3 separate regions of the Homo sapiens genome follow, and regions 1 and 3 are each linked to region 2. Evidence: promoter capture Hi-C in 16 types of primary human blood cells and fetal thymus (Javierre and others, 2016). All regions are on one chromosome and are shown on one strand. Each heading gives the region's core, a stretch centred on a gene start or on the middle of the fragment in contact. The rest is flanking DNA. Distances are from core to core; before and after follow the strand shown.

What was found. The method cuts DNA at HindIII sites, captures the fragments that hold promoters and counts their contacts. A CHiCAGO score of 5 or more calls a contact.
Region 1: a fragment that was not itself captured here is called in contact with the fragment with the promoter of LINC00853 in region 2 in 1 of 17 cell types (total B cells); the score reaches 5.3 in total B cells.
Region 3: a contact is called between a fragment that was not itself captured here and the fragment with the promoter of LINC00853 in region 2, in 7 of 17 cell types (naive B cells, activated CD4 T cells, naive CD8 T cells and 4 more). The highest score is 8.8, in naive B cells.

Annotation. Positions count from the first base shown.
Region 1 is chr1:47,652,461-47,655,387 of GRCh38, reverse strand. No RefSeq gene overlaps it. Among named protein-coding and RNA genes, the nearest start is that of LINC01738, 35 kb to the left of the region's middle. The HindIII fragment of the contact is 588 bases long and covers 1,150-1,737 here.
Region 2 is chr1:47,177,834-47,180,661 of GRCh38, reverse strand. LINC00853 (long intergenic non-protein coding RNA 853) reads right to left here and starts at 1,412. Exons shown (of 2, transcript NR_047498.1): 1 at 1,224-1,412; 2 at 323-794. CYP4A22-AS1 (CYP4A22 antisense RNA 1) reads left to right here and starts at 1,039. Exons shown (of 6, transcript NR_199717.1): 1 at 1,039-1,472; 2 at 2,213-2,537. RefSeq lists an enhancer at 1,040-1,541. The HindIII fragment of the contact is 3,617 bases long and covers 666-2,828 here.
Region 3 is chr1:47,682,092-47,685,014 of GRCh38, reverse strand. No RefSeq gene overlaps it. Among named protein-coding and RNA genes, the nearest start is that of LINC01738, 4.9 kb to the left of the region's middle. The HindIII fragment of the contact is 2,229 bases long and covers 148-2,376 here.

The DNA.
Region 1 (2,927 bases), core at 194-2,693, 470 kb before region 2:
CTGATGTTTTCTCTAGTTTCGTCTGTGTTTCATGATTGCTTCCTAAGTCTCTGGTTTTCTCCCAGCCCTAAGCACCCTCACCCTGCTGCCTCAAGGCATTCGTTCACTAAGATTCTGCCTTGAAACACTGTCCTCCCACTCTCTCTCAATAGCTCCTTCCAGCATGCAGCAGCCTTCTTGTGCAATGAAAATGATGTTGATATAATGCTGGATTTTGCTAAACGTCTTTAGCCAAAGTTACTATCATCATAGATAATATGTTAGAAACCCAAACCTTCCAACCCAGTTCTCTCCGCACTCCATACATGAAGCTCTATTCATTACAATAACAATAGCAACAGCTACCACTTCTGTCTGTGCCTGCTCTGTAACAGGTGCTGCTCTGAGCACTTCACATCTACCAACTCATTTTATTCTCACAAAAATCCTCATGGGGTGGATGCCACCATAATTCTCACTGACAGATGGTAAACTGAGGCACAGCCTTTGGCTAATGAATGGCCAAACCAAGATTCAAACCCAGGATGTGTCTTTGGGGTTCAGGTTGTACACCCCCACTCTTGGCTGCTTGTCATTTGGGACCCAGTTCTTCCCTTCACACAACCCCATGGATAGGCTTCATTGGTGGGGTTAATCACTCATAAGACTTTGATGCAGAGAAAGAGGTTAATGGGCGGGCTTTCCATGCCTGCCATATTCCCCTGAATATATGCTTTAAAAGAAATGCCAGAGGAATTATTGGATGTGAGGTATTTTGTGGGAGCAGGTAAGTAGCCACTCTCTATGGCCTGTCCAGTTCCCTACACTCCATGGTGATCTGAAAGGACCAGCCACCAAAGCACGCTCTGCTTCCACAAGCCAATCTGAAAAATGGGCTTGCAAAGTGAAAATTAACATCTGTCCACAGACCCACAATAACAACATAAATTATAAAAGTCTCGGAGAGAAGCTTCAGAGACTTGCCTATTTAAGACAAGTAAGATCTTTCAAGAAAAGAGCCACAGGTCTTTCAGGGGCCACAGAGGGAACTTGTTTTTAACACAAGAGAGAAACATAATAACAGAGAAAGTGACAGATTGTCACGGGTCTCAGTGCTACTTCTGCCACTTCCTAGCTGTGTGGCCCAAAATAAAGTCTACTGTCCAAGCTTCAGCTGGTCCTCAGGTCAATGAGAATAGTCCTCACTTTGTGTCCATGATTTTGGTCCTTTTGTGCCTTGTCTCAACTTTTGCATGAGTTGAACCTCTACTTATTCCTCAAAGCCTCGTGGAAGTGCCATCCCAGAAGCCCCAGGTGGAATGAGCCCCCCTCCCACTGGGTGCATGGAACACTCACTTCTGTCTTTCACTGGGGCTTACATATCTTGCTATTGTATTTTATATAATTGTTTAATCATTTAGGAAAGTGTTCGTTTGTTCGATGTGATCTGAGCACCTGCTCCAAGCCAAGGGTTGTGCCAGATGTTGGGAATATAATCATGAATGAGAGATTGTGATGGGCTGAACTGTGTGCCTCAAAAAGACAAGTTGAAGTCCTAACCCCAAGTACCTCAAAATGTGACCTTGTTTAGAAATAGAGTCATTGCAGATATAATTAGTAACATTAAATGAGGCCATAGTGGAGTAGGGTGGTGTCAGTATAAGAAGAGATACAAACGCACAGAGGCAGAGGTGCTGCCAAAATCCAAGGAATGCCTGGGGCCACCAGAAGCTGAAAGAGGCTTCTCCCCGAGAAGCTTGAGAGGGAGCACGGCCCTGCCGACATGTTAATCTCAGACGTCTAGACTCCAGAACTGTGACAGAATAAATTTCTGTTGTTTTAAGCCACCCAATTTGTGGTATTTTGTTATGGCATTTCTAGGAAACAAATACAGAAATGTTCGCCACTTTCAAGGAGCAATACATTAAACCAATAATTACAAAATAGTACGGGATGTGCTCTGTACAATCACAGAGGACATAACAAGTAACTCAGCCTTGGAAGAGGATCCAAAAAGACCTCCAGAGGGCGGGGCGCAGTGGCTCACCTGGTAATCCCAGCACTGGGAGGCCAAGGTGGGCAGACCATGAGGTCAGAAGATCAAGACCAGCCTGGCCAACATAGTGAAATCCCATCTCTACTAAAAATACAAAAATTAGCTGGGCATAGTGTCACTTGCCTGTAATCCCAGCTACTCGGAGGCTGAGGCAGGAGAATCGCTTGAACCAGGGAGTTGGAGGTTGCAGTGAGCAGAGATTGGGCCACAGAACTCCAGCCTGGCGAAAGAGTGAGACTGTCTCAAAAAAAAAAAAAAAAAAAAAAAAAGCCTCCAGAGCAGGCGCACAGTTGAAGCCGGGTTTTGAAGGATGAGTAGGAGTTCCCTGGAGGAAGGTAGTGGGAGAAAGCACTGTAGGCAGAAGGAACAGCAGCACTCCCTGTGCATCCCGTTGGTCTCTCCTGCTGGACTGTGCTCCCTGGTTCCCTTAGTGCAAGTCTGTGTTGTGACAAATGCTCAGCACTATCTCTTGAACATGCAGAGCCTTGAACAGACTCTCTAAACAAGAAGAGGGAACAGAGGATAGAGTGTAGGTGGCTGCCGCCAAGAGACAGGAAAAGCTGAAATCTTCAGATTCCTCAAATAGAGAGCAGATGGAGGGTAGCAGCAGAGGCCAGAGAAATGAGGCAGCCAAGCAGGGTTGGCTTTGAAAACACACACACACACACACACACACACACACACACACACACACAGACACACAAACACACCAGAATTGGGTTGTTCTCTAGGGCTCCAGCTCAGCTGGGAAGGGAAGCAATTTATGGCCAAAGGAAGTAGCCTGACAGTAAACAAAAATACAGTGACCCCGAGTTCCCACTGGACAGAAGATAGATAGTGCCGTCGTAAAAATGAGATTAATTTTAATAAGGGCTTTCACCAAGCAGCAGAC
Region 2 (2,828 bases), core at 163-2,662:
TCAGCCCAGAATGTCCTCTTACTGTTGAGGACATTTTTGCTCTTCCTGGAACAGGGCTTGCACCTTGTTTTCCCCTCTCCCACCTAAAACATGTAAGTTTCATAGGGTTACATTATAGGTTATACCCAAACTCAGGCAGAAAAGAAAAGCCTCCACCCAGCAACTGCACAGTTGAGGGAAGACTGCAGCACTGCTTACTTCATTTAGACTTGAAGAGGAACTTCCAGCCAGGAGTTGGCTTTGAAAACAGGCTGTGGAGTTCCGTCTCCAGAGTGCCAGGTGGTCAAGGGGAGTTTCAAGATTACTGCCGTCATACTCAGAGTGACACATGCAGAAATACTATCTGTTTATTGTGCTTCAAGGATCCATTAGATCAGGACTATTGCTGGGCAAAGCCTCTTCCCGCAGCCTAGGGGTAGTAAAGGTGGGGGTAGAGGTGCTGGGGCTGGGGCCAGAATCACACACAGTCTGCTCTGGCCTCTACCCACCTTCACAGGGAAGTCAGGTGGCTGAAGCCAGCAGAACTTGCTCTGGGACCAGGGTGGAGGCACCTGCCTCCCATCCAGACCTGGCTGGAGGGTCTTGACTCCCTAGCTTGGCTCTCCTCCCAGGGTTTTTTTTTTTTTTTTTTTTTGTCCCTGGCAGTGCAGGGGTGGCCAAAAGCTTGAGCTTGGGAATCATGCCGATTGGTTCAAATTCCAGCCTGCTCCTCGATGCTTGTGGGATCGCCTAGCCTTTCAGATCTTCCATTCCTTTGCCGGTAAAATTGGCTCTATAGTACATTCCTTGCAGGGCTGCTGGGAGGAAACAGAGATGACATCCGTGTTATTATTGCTCCTGAGACTTGCCAGAAAGCCCTCCATGATCAGCGTAGATGCCATTTCTTCCCAGATGCTCCTTTCCCCACTCCTGGGTTCAGCACTTCCTCCGGGCAACTTCAGCCCCTGCTCCTCCCTCTCTTTGCACCCGCCCCACCTGCCCCACTCACTCCACCCACCCCAGGGTGCTGTCTACTTGTCTGCATCCTGCTCCTGCCCTGGGTCTGGGAGCTCCTCAAGGGCAGGAATGGAGTGACTTCCCTCTCTGTGCACCCAGGACAGGGCTGGACAGGAGAAGGGAAGCCCAAGGAGTGGTGAAGAGCCCCGAAGGAAGGGACTAAACTCCAGCCATCTGTCCCGCGGTGTCTGTTCATACTCCTCCTCCGTGCACGGGCTCAGACATACATATGCGCATATGCTCTGTCTCTTTCTGGTTGAAGGTCCTGGGAGCCCTCCGGAACTCTGCTGCCTGGCAGTCCTTCAGTTTCGGGAGCTTTTCTGTCTGCCCGTGGCCTCGGCTGCCACCTGGTGGCTGCACGCTCCAAAGGAAGCGTAGATTGATGAGAGCCTCGGAAGTTGAGCTTCAGGCGCGGCTCTTCCCCGTCACACTGGGACCGGACGCATTTCCATGGCGTGGTCCCAGGAACCTCTCAGGTCATGCCAGCAACTGGGACTTCCTGTGGAATGCAAGGGCAGTGGGGCCTCCGCGAGAGAGAGAGAGAGAGAGAGAGAGAGAAGAGAGAGATATTAAGGATGAATCCCAGTGTCTGCTCTGAGCAAATTGGAAGACGATGGCATCAGGGGCACTGCTCTGGGCTATATAGACTGTGCCTCCACTAAAGGGTCCCTGAGACCAGGTGTGGGCCCGTATCCCTGGAGGGAGAGGTAACTTCCTCTGATTCGAAGGCATCATATAGGCTAGTGAATGGCACTGAGAATGGCAGATGCCAGGGACAAGCAGGAGCATGTGTGGGATGAGGATGCGGCGTGGATGTGTGACGTTTCAGAGCCTGCAACACATCCGTAGGGAAGTCCTGGAGGAGCAGTTGGGTGCATGGTGGAGTTCTGAAACAGCTGGGCAGTCGGCACTTGAGCCAGAGATTCTGCTTTCGACCTGGATGCCCATTGAGAGGTTAAGAGCTCAGGTCTGGGTCAGGCAGCTTGGAAGCAGCACAGCTTGGACACTTGGTAGCCTGGGACTGTGGTTAAATCAACGTGACTCTCGGAGCTCCAGTTCACTGTAAATTAGGGCAGTAAATGATGTCTACATGATAAGTGGTGTTATGAATGTTAAACATTCACATGAAATACATAGAATAGTGCTTAGCATACAGTACACAATAACTGTTAGCTATTTGGAAAATTACTATTGTTATTATGATTATTTATTACAGAGTGAACTGAATTGGATGCAAGATCACGGTGCGTCAGAGCTAGCAAGATCCTTAGGATCATTTAGCCTGGTTTACTAATATTACACTATGGAATTTAAGCCCAAGGAATGGAGAGTACCCGACGAGCGTTATGTAAGGAGTCGAGTGAGAAGTAAGCTGGATGCTCTGCTTGGCTGGCAGGTACAGAATGTGCCAGACCCATCTGTACCAGCCTGGATCTCTTGAGGCATCAGCACAATGGACCTGGCCACACCAGTTTATTCCACACCGCTGAGGCTGGTACAGTTCTGGACATGGACTTTGTAAATAAATAACTGGGCCTTTGGTCAGTTCTAGCTGTGAGCTTGGAGGTATGGGGTGGGATGGTGAGGACAGGTGGGGGCAAAGTGAGGAAAGGGGCAGGGAGGAGAGGGGAGAGAGAAAAAGGGGAATGAGACAGGCTGAGCTAGTGAGCTGGAATTGGAGGTTGGGAACAGGCTTTCCTTGATGGTGGTGGTGCTGTTTTCTTTTTAATTTTAATTTAATTTTATTTTAAGTTCCAGGCTACATGTGCAGGATGTACAGGTTTGTTACATAGGTAAAAACATGGTGGTTTGCTGCAACTGTCAACCCATCA
Region 3 (2,923 bases), core at 13-2,512, 500 kb before region 2:
AGTTTCTAAAGAAGGTCATAGACCCGTATAGCAAGTGCTAAGCGGTAAATACAAAAGTTCTTGGGGTCTTTGGGAGCTGTGGTCTGGGTGGTGGAAGGTTGGGGTCAATAGAGGGGAAAGGGAAGAACAAGGAGAAAAAGTGAAGCTTCCTTTTTCTCCTAGTTCTAGACCCTCAGAGTCTTTATTGTTATTATTTTGTAAAGCCTTATAGTTTGATGCCTCATTTTATTGATGCTGTAGCCCAGAGAGGTGGAGGGATTGATTCAGTGTCACACAGGAAGCTGGCCCGTGCGGTGCTCTGACACCCGTGTCTGCAGGCCTCACTCTCTGTGGTACTGACACGGTGAGGGGAGGAAAGGAAGGCGCCTTGGGATCACAGAGCTGCCTATTTTAACTCGTTAGAGCAGTGATGTCCAATAGAACTTTCTGCAATGGTAGAAATGTCTTCTGTCTGTGCTGCCCAATATAGTAGGCACTTGCCACATACAGCTATTAAATTAAGTAAAATGTAAAATTCAGTCCAACCAGCCACAATTCAAGGGCTACCATATTGAACAGCACAGATATAACACATTTCCATCTCTGTAGAGAGTTCTATTGGATAGTGCTGTTCTAAGGGCCACCATCACCAGCCCCAAGGACATGCTTGTGGTCATGGTGCAAGGTGGCCCCTTCCTCTAGGCTTTCACAGCCCTCAGTACTTTCACTACCCCCAATCATGACAGTTGCCACTCAATTATAAATGACAATGTCCTGTCTGTCTTGCCCACCTGAATGAGAGCACTTTGGGGGCTGGGGTCCTGTCTCTTTTCTCTTTTCACCTCCACGGCATCCAGCACAAGACAGATTCTCAATGATGATTTAGTCTCAGAATCTTAGAGTTGTAAAGGACCTTAAAGGGAGTCTAACAGAACTGCTCCCGGGGCAGGGACCTGCCCTGCAGCCTCTCAGAGGTAGCCCATCCACCCACTGTTTGCACACCTCTGGGGGCAGAGACCTCACTATCTCCCCAGGCAGCTGAGTCCATTTCTGAGCGGCTGGGATTATTAGAATAGACTTTCTCAAATCTAGCTGAAATCTCCCTACTTGCATCGTCTACCCTTGCTCCGCCCTCTGGCGTCTCACAATATTAATTTTGCTTTTGTTTCTATGTAATGACCCTTCTAAGAGCTAGACATAGTATATAATTCCTCCATGTTCCTCTTGAAACAAGAAGCTCATCACGGAATGCCTAATTCTAGATGTGGGCTGGTCAGCAAGGATAGCAGATACTGACCTCCCTTGATCTAGAGACTATTCTTCTGCTAGGGCCACCCACACATTTAGCAGCTTCATTACTCCATAGGCTCATCTTGGGTTTGGGTTGTATACACCTCCCAGGCCATATGCATGGCCCATGACTACGTTGCCCCAGTGGTGAATGGAATGGAAAAGGCCTCTGTCAATACTGCTCTTTGACCTGGGTGTGCAGGGACACTGCTCCTGCCTTACTTCTCAAGCAGCCTCACACTTTGAGTGCCAACCTCAACATTTTCTAAATCCCTCTCCATTGCCTGGGACTTGGGATTTGCAGTAAATACCAAGAAATATTTGGGGGCAATCAATAACGATCCTTCACTGATTTCCTGGAGCAATCCTAAAATCCTCAGAGACTATTCAACCTAACAGCCTTATTTTACAAGTGGCGAAACTGAGGCCTAGAATGTGCTAGTCTTTGCTGATCCCTGCTGGTGACGTCTGAGCCAGGTTTGAGTATTATTTGTGGGTACTTGGATCCGGTGACAGTATCAGGTGACTAGGGCTTGCAGTATCTTACAGATGGGATGCTGTGAGCCCAGACTGAGACCTGTATAGGCCCTGGTCCATTTCTCCCCTTCGGGGCTCTTTCCAACCCTCTCCTTCACACCGGGGGTTGACCAGATGCCCTAAGGAACTCTAGGATTAACTCCTATAGGCTTTACCTGGGACTGCATGGCCAGGCCCTGGTCCCAGTAGAGCAGTCTGGCAAATGGATCACTTCCACTGGCCAGTGTAGTACTTCTTTTATAGAATCCCATGAAATGGGGCCTCCAGAATGGCGCTGACATACTGATTTTAAGTGACAAATTGTTTCCAGAGACAGAGGCCTCACACACCCTAGAGGCAGTCCTGGTCCCTGTGTTCACAATCCAGTGGGAAAAACAGTCTACTCTGCAGTGTTGGGAGAGAAGTGCTGGGTGAGCCCAGAAGAAAGACCCTGGAGGGCTTCCTCGAGGCAGTGATACCTAAGCTGAGTCTAAAGAATGAGCCAGGAAAAAGAGAGAAGAGAGAATTACAGGCAGAGAAAATGGTGTGTAGAAAGATGCCTGCATACGATTCAGCCTGGTTATGTAAGCTTGGGAAGATGGCTTAGCTTTTTTGAACCCCTGTTTCTTTATCTGTGAAACTGAGAGAACAGTATGGGCCTCGCAGGGTCAAGCCTTCATTTGGCCATTCAGAAAACGTTCTGAGAACCTACTAAGCCAGGCCCTGTGCAGGTGCCAGGGGCATTCAGAAGAGCAAGGCACGCTCCTGCTCTTAAGGGGCTCCAGACCGTGGCCGTGCAGCAGCTGAAGGGCTGTCCCAGGGATTGGGCCCGGTTCCCCAGTAGCCCAGACGGCTGAGTTGACTCTGGCTGGGGTGATAGGGGCAGCTTCACTGACTTCCTGACCCTCAGGCTCCATCTTGAAAGGATGAGTAAGAGAGTCAAGGCTGAGAAGATGGGAGGGAGCAGTAAGTGCAAATAAAGCAACAGAGGGAGCAGTAAGTGCAAAGGCACAGAGGTCTGAGAAAGCCTGAGATAGTTGGGGCATGGGAAGTGGTCCCATATGCCTGTAGTGTATGGGGCACATTGACCGTGGCTGGAGATGAGGCTAGAATTCAAGGCTATAGCCTGAAAGGCCTC